2 separate regions of the Homo sapiens genome follow, and region 1 is linked to region 2. The links are contacts of gene promoters, found by promoter capture Hi-C in blood cells and fetal thymus (Javierre and others, 2016). All regions are on one chromosome and are shown on one strand. Each heading gives the region's core, a stretch centred on a gene start or on the middle of the fragment in contact. The rest is flanking DNA. Distances are from core to core; before and after follow the strand shown.

What was found. The method cuts DNA at HindIII sites, captures the fragments that hold promoters and counts their contacts. A CHiCAGO score of 5 or more calls a contact.
Region 1: a fragment that was not itself captured here is called in contact with the fragment with the promoter of MAK16 in region 2 in 1 of 17 cell types (total B cells); the score reaches 7.6 in total B cells.

Annotation. Positions count from the first base shown.
Region 1 is chr8:37,627,733-37,633,655 of GRCh38, forward strand. All of the region lies in intron 1 of LOC105379380 (a long non-coding RNA gene), which reads right to left. It overlaps LOC124901931 (a long non-coding RNA gene), which reads right to left. Exons shown (of 2, transcript XR_007060886.1): 2 at 4,923-5,619. Among named protein-coding and RNA genes, the nearest start is that of LINC01605, 31 kb to the left of the region's middle. RefSeq lists an enhancer at 3,943-3,992. The HindIII fragment of the contact is 914 bases long and covers 3,394-4,307 here.
Region 2 is chr8:33,483,456-33,489,307 of GRCh38, forward strand. It overlaps MAK16 (MAK16 homolog), which reads left to right and starts at 1,727. Exons shown (of 10, transcript NM_032509.4): 1 at 1,727-1,766; 2 at 4,923-4,972; 3 at 5,065-5,174; 4 at 5,279-5,343; 5 at 5,533-5,684. The coding sequence starts at 1,752. RefSeq lists enhancers at 883-1,519, 1,507-1,656 and silencers at 1,147-1,336, 1,547-1,734. The HindIII fragment of the contact is 3,746 bases long and covers 1-3,622 here.

The DNA of each region.
Region 1 (5,923 bases), core at 2,601-5,100, 4.1 Mb after region 2:
ACGTTTATGATTTAGGTAGTTTTCTAGATGTATATTATATATCAATTTTTAAATGTTCATTTTTTTGCAAAGGTAATTACTATACCATGTAATACATATAACTATCCCCAAACATTATTAAATTCCACGTACATGTATAACTCCTGTGGACTGGAGAGGTTAAGTGACTTCCCCAAAGTCACACAGCTTAGTTAATGGTGGACCCAGTCTCAATCCAGGTTTTAAGACTCCAAGACCAATTGTCTTTCTACTATAATGTTGCTTCCATTTATATATTAAAGCCTCACCCATAACTCCTATTCCTGGCAAGACTGATCAACTATGCCTCCACCTCACAGAAAAAAAAAATTAATATTTAAGATATTTTTTTAAGCCATGAACTAAACTTGATGTAATGAAAGCTCTCTAGTGGGCATTAGCCAAACTCAACACTCTTTTGCCTTGCATGTGTAAGTCATTCCTGCAGAAACACCTCATCAAGAAGGCACCAAACCAAGGTGCCCCCCTCCCACCAGCCTTCCCAGACAGCTGCTGCAATGCTGACCTCATGTCTGATAATATAGCCTTGGCAAGGAAGCTGTGTTGCTCTTCGCAGACCCATTGTTGCTTTAAGGATCTATTTGGTTCAACTTAAAACAAAAATAAAGAAACAACTACCAAACTGTACTAAATTAAGAGGACAGAGAGTAATCCCACTGGATTTCACTTGGACTTGATGTCCCTCTTGAGACTGTGGGTGTCTCGTGGGAAGGAAGAATAAAGAGATCTGTCCTAGGAAGAGTCTAACATCACAGAATTTTAAAGTTGAAAGGGACTTTAAAGTTCAGCTTCTAAGAGCAGAGAATAATAAAGACAATGCTAGAAAGTACCTCATAGATTCCAAAGTCTTTTTACATTTCTCCATTGATCTTCCAGGCAATCATTTCAGGTAAGATATTATACTCCTTTTAGAGGCAAGGAAATCAAAACTCAGGCAATTTGCAGAGTTACTAGTGGTGGCCTCTTATTTCTGGGCCCTGGCTGGTTGAGCTAAATTCTAAGCTCTTTCTAGCACAGCACATTATAAACCACACCCAGCTCACGGGAGACACCTGAAATTTGTCATCACTAGTTCTCAAGGAGCTTTAGAGTCAGAGACAAGTAAGATTCTAAGAAACACAACTGTTAGCTAGCCAGATTCTTGGGCTAAAGAGTTATGTTTAGCCCAGGAGTCTGGCTGGTTCCATGCTGAATGTCTGGATTTTTACAGAGATGACCATGGGTTTGTAACACACTGCACTCATAGAAAGTATCCTCCTCAAATGGATTAATGGCATTCACAGCAACCTGGATAGGATTGGAGACTATTAATCTAAGTGAAGTAACTCAGGAATGGAAAACCAAACATGGTGTGTTCTCACTCATAAGTGGGAGCTAAGCTATGAGGATGCAAAGGCCTAAGAATGAAACAATAGTCTTTGGGGACTCAGGGGGGAAAGCATGGGAAAGAGGTGAGGGGTAAAAGACTACAAATTGAGTGCTATGTACTGCTTGGGTGTTGGGTGCACCAAAATCTCACAAATCACCACTAAAGAACTTACTCATGTGACCAAATACCACCTGTTCCTCAATAACCTATGGAAATAAAAAAAAATTGTTTTAAGAAGTAAACAAAGAAGCTATTTGATTACAGTTTAAAAAAAGAAAGAAAAAAAGAAAGAATCCTCCTCAGTCAGCCCTAACTCTGCAAGGCTTAACCACTCCAAGGTGCTTACCCACTTGGGTTGTGACCCAGGTCTACATTAAAACAAAGGTACAAAGTTAGTGGTGAACAAGTGGAATCTGCATAAAGCATGCATCCCTAGCATCCTTTGTAATTTCTCTCCGTAGATGCAAGTGCTGCCCTGATAGCTGCAATTAGGTTGGTGCAAATGTAATTTGCATAAAGTAATGGCAAAAACCTCAATGACATTTGTGCCAACCTAATAAAAAAGGTCCCACCTGTTCTCTTCAGCTGACTCCTAGGAAGCCACAGAACACATCTGTGGGAAGGTGGGTGCCAGAGGAAGGGCAGTGAACACACACAGCAGCAGATCCTGGAAAGGGATGGGAACATAGTGAAACCCCATCTCTACTTAAACAAATACAAAAACTAGCCAGGTGTGGTGATGGGCTCCTGTAATTCCAGCTACTCAGGAGGCTGAGGTGGGAGAAATCACTCGAACCCAGAAGGAGGAGGTTGCAGTGAGCCGAAAGCGCACCACTGTACTCCAGCCTGGGCCACAGAATGAGACTCTGACTCAAGAGAAAAAAAAAATTGCTTTTCAACCATGAGCTTTTTTGTTCATAGCCTAGCCCCAGAAAATGACAGGGATAAAGGAGATCTCTTCTATCTACACAAATGAGGAAGGAGAACTCAGAAAGACCACTCTCCCTTATGTTAAAAATGTAGCTGCTGCAAAGAACTTCCTTTTTCAGGATTCTCTTCCTCTGCACACATATTCTAGTTTCCACCATTACAAACTCTCCTCACTGGGCAAATTGAAAATAAGTAATGGTTTCAATACTGCACTACTGCCACTACCTTAAAAAGTATGGCCACAGAGCCACTTTGGTGGGCACGGCCGGCCGGCTGGAGGCAGCTTGGAGCTAAAAGCCAAACCCCAGGTAGCCACTCACTGCCTTTTCCTCCCCAAGTTTCCTGAAGTTCTGCTGACTGCACCCTAGAGGCCCCAGCTCTTCCTGCACATGCCATGAGCTCACACACAGCCCTGGGCATGCCATGGGTTTGGCATAAAGGGCTCAGCTAAACCAGTGGAGTTGTTCTTATGGCCAGGAGGACTGGGCCCGGCTGGCTTTCAGAGAAGCCAATCCACAGAGCTTGAGTTCCAACCATTCCAAAGCCTTTCCCTATAGCAATGGGACTGTGAACAGGCGATTCCCCTGCCTGCTGCTCCCTCTGCAATCAAAAGGAAGAAAAATATCTGGGCCTGGAAAAGTGATTGCCATAGGCTACAGCCCAGCACAAAACAGCAGACACCCAGACATCCATCAAGTGCAAGTATTGACATTTATTGACTGCAGACAGAGGCTACACTACGAGCTCGGAGGGTTACTGAGGATCAGCCTCAAAGGAAGCCCCAGAAATACCACATTACCTTTGCAGAACATTCTGCAAATCCTAGTCCCTCTGCAAGAGGGTTGGCCTGAACAGCACAACTATACCAGACACAACAGAATCACATCAGCCAAGACATAAATACATACCATTATCAAAGAAGGGTCCCTTCGCACAGTGGTTCTCAACCAGGGAAGTAACTCCCACTCACAGGGCATCTGGAAATTCAGGGAGTGAGGTTTGTGTTGTCAGAGGACCTGAGAGATGCTACTCGGGGGCAGGAACCCAGGATGCTAAGCTTCCAGCGATATAGGAGATCACCTGCATAAAGAACTGTCCTGCCATAAATGCCACTAGTGTCCTTGGTGAAGAAAACAGTATACCTACCATCCCTCAACCTTAATTCTCAGCCTGATTTTGTCTTGTCACCCTTGAATCAATTTCACATTCTCAAGCAACGCCCTGCAGTCTGGGGGACTCCTTAGCATACATGAGAGGGCACTGTGCTAGTCGGTATAGATGCCGTGGGACACAGTGGTTATAAGCATGGATTCTGGATAGCTTTCCAAGGTTAAAACCCTGTATGTGTGGATGATAATTTTCTCTTCCCTCATAGATTCATAATGAGGATTCAACGAGATAATGGGCCTGCAGGGCCGTGCTCAGTAAGTATAGTGATTTTTTTCTATTTGAGAAATTTTTGTCCAGGAATCTGGATTTAGATTTTTCAGTAGCAAACACAATGTGGTAAACTGAAATGAAGACTGGGATTTAGAAAATTGAACTTCAAACCCCAGATCTACTTGTTTTACCCATGAAATCACAGGTCAATCAGCTGACGTCTCTGAGCCCCATCTTCTCACATTTGAAATGTTCAGAATAACAATAAAGCCTTCACAGGGAGATTATGGGAATTAACCGAAAGGAGGAAGTGAAAGTGACCTGACTGCTACAGTGAGTGTCAAGCACCCATCACATGTTCTATGTGGAACCACCTAAAACAAGAGCATCACATAGTGTGTGTTTCCTCCTTCACTTAGGATGGCATCACTTCCTCTGAGATTAAAACTTATCAACACGATGACATATAGAAAAATGTCCAACCTCACTAATAAAAAAAGATGTATATTAAAATATCAGGAGATCATTTTCACACAACAGTGGCGAAGATTCAAAAGGCAGATGATAATCAGTATTGGTGAGGGAAACAAGCTTCTTTATATACACTGTGGGTGGGAATATTAATTGATACAATATTTCAAAAGACAATATCGCAAGATACACCAAAAATATGTGCGTGTGTGTTTGCATACATATATATGAAGGAAATAATTAGTGCTCACAAAAAACTGTATAAAATGCTTATTGCAGCATTCTTTACAATGGATGAAAATTAGAAACAGCTTAAGTCAGCTGGCATGGTGGCTCATGTCTGTAATCCAGCACTTTGGGAGGCCAAGGCAGGTGGATAACTTGAGGTCAGGAGTTCAAGACCAGCCTGGCCAGCATGGTGAAACCCTGTCTCTACTAAACATTTTTAAAAAATTAACCAGGCGTGGTGGCCAACACCTGTAATCCCAGTTACTCAAGAGGCTGAGACAGGAGAATAGCTTGAACCCGGGAGGCAGATGTTGCAGTGAGCCGAGACTGTGCCATTGCACTCCAGCCTGGGCAACAAAGCGAGACTCCCTCTCAAAAAAAATGATAATAGACTAAATGTTCTTTAATTAAGGATTGGGTCATTAAATAATGCCACATCCATACAACAGAATATATGCAAGTCATTACAAAACATAAGATAGAGCTACACATAGTCTCATGGAAAGATGTTTGAATTAAATTATCTTTAATGTAATGGTACATAACAAATTACTGGAGAGTATATGGGATGATCCCACTGTTGCAAGAACAAATACAAATATTTTATAGAAATATTACAAGGCCCTTAAGCACCAGTGGTAATCTCTGGAGAAGAGACCAGGGGTTGGGGGAAGAAAAGATTTTCAATTTATATTTAGGGGTACATTACAGTTACAGGTACATTATGGCTGAATGCCAAATGGCCAAGTGTTAAAGTTCAGCTGAAGAGGAGGCCAAAGCCTGTGCATAATTTTAAATACAAATTTTATTATTACAATTTTGAATTAGAGCTATAGTAAAGTTTTAAGGGCTGACATAGGGTGCAGAAACAGTTTTCTTGGGCCGCCAGCTTGAAGGGATAATCCAAGGCCCTTCCTGTGCCCATTTGAGTGACTGAGGGTTGATCACTTCCACCCATGTGGGTGAGGAGCAAGATGTTTGGAGGGAAGTCCCATTTTTCTCTAACAGCGTCTCTTTTCTTCATTTTTATATTCTCTTTTATGTCTGGATCAAGGATCATGTATCATGGATGCTGTATGCGATTTTGGAATGTTTCCTCTTTTTGAAATTTTAAGGCGGCAAAGTTGACATTCTGTCTTTTATTCATCCTCACAAGATGTGAAAGATTTTCAAATGAGACTTTTTCTTGAAAGATTTCTGGCCTCGAGGGAATTAAATATTTAAAAATGAAAAACAGCTCTGAAAGGTTGTTTTATTTAATGTCATGCATGTTGCTACAACAAATAATTCTGTAAAAATGAGATTTAATGACATCAGCTAATCAACTTTAATAAAAAGTTATTAAAAGTTATTTTTTAGGATTTTATAATAGTTTTGGCTCCCAAATAGGATACAAGGATATGTTTTCCCTAAAGTTGTCTAGCTAGCATTACTCCCCTATGACTCTAATTAAGTGCTGACTCTTCCCGTATTTATGTAACTATTTGAAAGTTCATCATAATTCCT
Region 2 (5,852 bases), core at 477-2,976:
TGTTGCCCAGGCTGAAGTGCAGCGGCTTGATCTCAGCTCACTGTAATCTCTGCCTCCCAGATTCAAGTGATTCTCCTGCCTCAGCCTCCCAAGTAGCGGGGACTACAGGTGCCCACCACCACGCCTGGTTAAGTTTTGTATTTTTAGTAGAGATGGGGTTTCACCACGTTGGCCCGTCTGGTCTTGAACTTCTGACCTCGGGTGATCCACCTGCCTCGGCCTCCCAAAATGCTGATTACAGGCGTGAGCCACCAAGCCCAGCCTATTTATTGATTATATGCTAAACACGGAGCGGATTACTTACGCCTCTCCTTTTTAGACCATATAGAGTAATTTCCTGATGTTGCCATGGCATTTGTGGCGCCAGTGGGAGTGTAGCAGTGAGGACGACCAGAGGTCAAACTCATTGCCATCTTGGTTTTGTGGGTCTTGACTGGCTTCTTTACTGCAATCTGTTTTATCAGCAACATCCTTATGACCTGTATTTTGTGCTGACCTCATCCTGTGATTTAGATGGCCTGACCCTCGGGAATGCAGCCTAGCAGATCTCAGCCTTATTTTACCCAGCCACTATTCAAGATGGGGTTGCTCTGGTTCAAATGCCTCTTGACAGTCTTTCTTTCCTTTTCTTTTTTCTTTTTCTTTTTTTTTTTTTGAGAGGTAGTTTTGGTTGTCACCCAGGCTGGAGGGCCACAGCATGATCTCGGCTCACTGCAACCTCCGCCTCCCGGGTTCAAGCGATTCTCCTGCCTCAGCCTCCCAAGTAGCTGGGATTACAGGCACCTGCTACCACGCCCGACTAATTTTTGTATTTTTAGTAGAGACGGGATTTCACTATGTTGGCCAGGCTGGTCTGGAACTCGCCCGCCTAGGCCGCCCAAAGTGCTGAGGTACAGGCGAGAGCCACCGCGCCCGGCCCGGCCGACAGTCTTTCTTCTATAATACGATACAAACTAGTAAAGATTTTCTTTTTCCCCTGGCGGAAAAGAGCTGTTAGGCTTCCAGATTTGTTTTTGTGGGTTATTAGACCTCTACTTTTCTTCTTGGTATTTTCCCTCCCTTATCAACTTTGTTTGTTGTCTCAAATAGGCAATGAGGAAGACACAGGTGTTTATTATTATTGGAATGCTCTTTCCATTTGGTCAGTGGTTTCTCAAAGCAGGAGGAATTCAAGTTCTGAGTTTCTAAAGTCAGGACCCGGTGCCGCACCCAACGTGGGCGTGGGGAGTGGCTAAGTCAGGGTCTGAGGGGCAGGGCCGGGGCCTGGCTGCGAGCTGGGGCCGGGGGACTCGGAGGAGCGGGGACCCAGCCCCGCCGCGCCGCCTGCAGCTTTCCCCAGCCTCCTCCCAGCAGAGGGGAGGCCCGACAGGGAGGGGTCCCATCCTCATGAACGGTCACAAACAGGGCGCTAGGGAAGCACGCCCGACCCCCGCGGTCCCCGCGCTCCAGGATTCGGCAGACTGCGCGCGTCCTGCCTCCCGCGGATCGCACTGGGTCCCAACAGGGTTCCCAGCTCCAGGCTGCGCCCATGAACAAGCCCAGCATTGCGGACGGGCGCGCGCAGACGCCAGCGTGGTGAAGACGCGGGGGCGCGCGCGCGGCGACGAGACTGCCAGGGGACGCTTCGCAACACCGAGAGTCTCAGCGTTTCTCGAGATAGGTGAGGCTGCGCGTTCCGGAACTGGTTTCCCGGAAGGAGCATGTCTGCGCCCGCGATCCGACCGGAAGTTGCACGCTGAGCCGCGGACACCATGCAGTCGGATGATGTGAGTCTCCTCCGGTTGTTCTTACACCCGGGGTTTGCGCAGGGAATTTTGCCCATTTTCGGACACTTAGAAAACGCGTACGCAGCGGGTCTGTTGCCTCGTGCCGCTCTGGATGTGAGGCTTCCGGAACCCCGATTTTCCAACATAGGTTCTCACGCGTGTCTAGCAGGGGTTTACTGCCCGCTGCCCCGGCCGGGTTGTGAGCACAGGACTCCGTCACCTCAGCCCATGGGGTCGATGTGTCCCGTCCTTCGTGCCTACCAATGCAGGACGTCGCGTCATGCTGTCAGCTGTCAGCTGTCAGCTCCGGACTTGGGGTGGGGGGCGGCCCGGGATTTGGCGAAGCTGACTCCAAGTTTAAGCGTCCTTCTCATCCATGTGCGCGTTACTCTTCCATCTGCGTTTCCTGTGTAGGCTTTTCTTTACATTTGCTCTACTTCTGCCTAAGTCATAATTTCGGAAGTATCCTAGATTCATTCATTGAGTTTTTTGTTGGAGAAATAACAGTGTGCTTACAGTGTGCCAGGCATTGTGGTAATTATTGAGGATTTGGTTAACCAGAAAAAATGTCCCACCTCTCCTGGAACACTGATGGGGGAGACACAGTAAACAAGTGAACAAATAAGTTAACAATTACACTATATAATCATACTATGAAAGAAAGACCAGAGATGATGAAGGACACTTCAGATAGGGTTACTCAGGGAAGGTTTCTCTGAACAGAAGATGTTTGAGTTGAGATCTAAAAGATAAGAATAAGCCAGTCACTGAGGAGCTGAGGAAAAAGCAATCCAGGCAGTAGGAACAGTAAAGTACAAAGAGTTGAAGATATGAGAGAATGAATATAAGGGTCATCAAAGTGACAATGTAAGACAGGTAATGAAATTAGATATGCTTGCCAGGGCGAGGTCATGCAGAATCTTGTAGGAAGTGTTTTTTAGGCCTTTTAATGATCTATGTTTGTGAAAAGTTGTCTAGTTGCTGTGTGAAGGACTTTTGGAGGGAAAAAATGAAAGCAAGGAGACTAGGGTATGACAAAGGTTGCTTCAAGCCAGACACAGTGGCTCATGCCTGTAATCCCAACGCTTTGGGAGGCTGGGGCTGGAGGATCGCTTGAGGCCAGGAGTTCGATTCCAGCCTAGGCAATAAAGTGAGACTCCATCTCTACAAAAAATAAAAAATTAGCTGGGCGCGGTGGTGTTCGCCTGAGGTCCCAGTTACTTCGAAGGCTGAGGCAGAAGGACTACTTGAGCCGAAAAGTCCGAGGCTGCAGTGAGCTATGATGGCACCACTGCACTCCAGCCTGGGTGACAGAGAGACCCTATCTCTAAAGTAAATAAATTTTTTTAAAAACGAAAGTGGCTTCGCCTAAGGTAGTAATTTAATGGTGGAGATGAAAAGAAATTGATGAATTTGAGACCTTTTACGTCAGTATAATTGACAAGACTTTGGTGATGGATTAAGTGAAGAAGAAAAGGAAGAAATCAAAGGATTTGGGATATAAATACATAGTTAAATGGTGATTTTATTTATTGAAGTGGGGGAACTCTAGGGAAGACTGTTCTTACGAGGGATGTGGAATTGAGAACTCCTTGTGGATATGTTAATATTTATGTTGCCTTTTAGATATTGAAGAGATGTCATATAAAAATCTGGTGCTCAGGAAAGAAGTCTGACCAGAAAATAACAATTTAGGAGTCATCCATTTAGAGATGATACTTAAAGCCACAAGCCTAAAAGAGCTCCCTTATTCTTCTTACCTGTTTCCTACCATCCCCCACCAGACACACCTATAAAATTCTTAAAGTGTGTTTTATTCTTTTGCCCTCTTCATATTTTTCCTTTAACAGTGGTAAAGCTTTTTTTTACCCCAGTTCCTCAAGGCAGCGCACTCAAAGGCTGTCATACTCTTACGCATGCTATGTGGCCTTTAGACCTGCTATTTTGTGATACTTTGTTTACATATCTTTCCCCTAACTAGATAGACGAAACTCTTTAAAGAGTATACTTTCTTTCATTCAGCAAATACTTAAGTGGCTACTGTGTGTCAGGACTTGGAGATGTCAGTGCCTTACATAAATTAAGTATATAATGCTGAATGAATAAAGAGCACATTAAGTACAGGAGGATAGCAGTAGATAGTTTTCTTTGCCCTCAATGAGATAAAATTATGGTATGTATATCTAAAAATCTAATACCATGAAGCCTTTTTTTTTTTTTTGGAGATGGATTCTCACTCTGTCGCCCAGGCTGGAGTGCAGTGGCGTGATCTCGGCTTACCGCAACTTCTGCCTCCTGGGTTCAAGCGATTCTCCTGCCTCAGCCTCTCAAGTAGCTGGGATTACAGGCACCTGCCACCACACCTGGCTAATTTTTCTATTAGTAGAGATGGGGTTTCACCATGTTGGCCAGGCTGGCCTCAAACTCCCAACCTCAAGTGATCCGCCTGCCTTGGCACTCAAAGTGCTGGGATTACAGGTGTGAGCCACTACACCCGGCCCATGAGAGCCTTTAATAATGGATAATGAACATAAGTAAAAAGGGAAAGTTACGAAGTATATAAAATGTGATTTCACAGAGTATGTCAAAAAAAGTCTGGAAAAATATTTACAGAATAGTAATGAAATTTTATCTCTGGGTAATGGAGTTATGATTATTGCTCATCTGTATTTAGCTTTTCTATAAGAATCTGCTGGGCTTTTTTGTTTTGTTTTGTTTTGTTTTGAGACGGAGTTTCACTCTTGTTGTCCAGGCTGGAGCGCAATGGCACAATCTCGGCTCACCGCAACCTCCCTCTCCTGGGTTCAAGCGATTCTCCTGCCCCAGCCTCCCGAGTAGCTAGGATTACAGGCATGCGCCACCATGCCCAGCTAATTTTGTATTTTTAATATAAACAGGGTTTCTCCATGTTAATCAGGCTGGTCTCAAACTCCTCACCTCAGGTGATCCGCCCAACTCAGCCTCCCAAAGTGCTGGGATTACAGGCGTGAGCCACCGTGCCCGGCCTTGCTGTTTGTATTTTAAAAAGTAAACAAGTCAGGCTATTTTACAAAACATTTCTTCCTCTCATTCCTGTCCTTGGGCATTGCCTTCTTGAATTAATATAGTATCTCTTGGGGCAGAGGATTTGAAATGGGCTTTTACTTTGTCTTGCAGGTTATCTGGGATACACTAGGAAACAAGCAATTTTGTTCCTTCAAAATAAGGTGAGTCTCAATTTACAACTTGGTCAAAGATTCCTTCAGTTGCCTCTTTGGCAACCCATTTTATAATCTTTGTTTCTTTTCTCCCATTCTAGAACCAAGACTCAGAGCTTCTGCCGAAATGAATATAGCCTGACTGGACTGTGTAATCGGTCATCCTGTCCCCTGGCAAATAGTCAGTATGCCACTATTAAAGAAGAGAAAGGTAACTCCCCAGTTTTAACTTCTAGAAGAACTGCTCCACAGCTTTTACAGGGATGTTCTTTAGTTTCTGTAAATAACACTAAAGCTATTTTACTTTATCTTCAGGACAGTGCTACTTGTATATGAAGGTTATAGAACGAGCGGCTTTTCCTCGGCGTCTCTGGGAACGGGTAAGCCTTACAACAAAACTACAGTGACCGCTGATCAAGAGCATCAAAGCCACATGCTTGACCATGATGCCCAATTCCATGACCATTAACTTTTGAGGCCATCCTCATTAGGCCATGGGTGTCACTGACAGTGAAAACCTAATGAATCATTTACACTTGCCCTTCAAACTTCCTGTTTCTGTTTGGTAGGTCCGGCTTAGTAAAAACTATGAGAAAGCACTGGAGCAAATAGATGAAAATCTGATTTACTGGCCCCGTTTCATTCGACACAAATGTAAGCAGAGATTCACCAAGATCACCCAATACCTAATTCGAATTAGAAAACTTACACTAAAGCGACAGTAAGTATTTGGATCATTCATTATTTTTAAATCTCTCTTTTTATGGAGCTTGTTTTGAAGTTGAGAAATTGTGAAACTTCGGGGCTTTCTATTCAACTTTGTGGAGTCTGTTATGATGTACTAAAGAGAAACTTTAGCTTTGACTAAAGGTGTGCCCTTTGATATGGC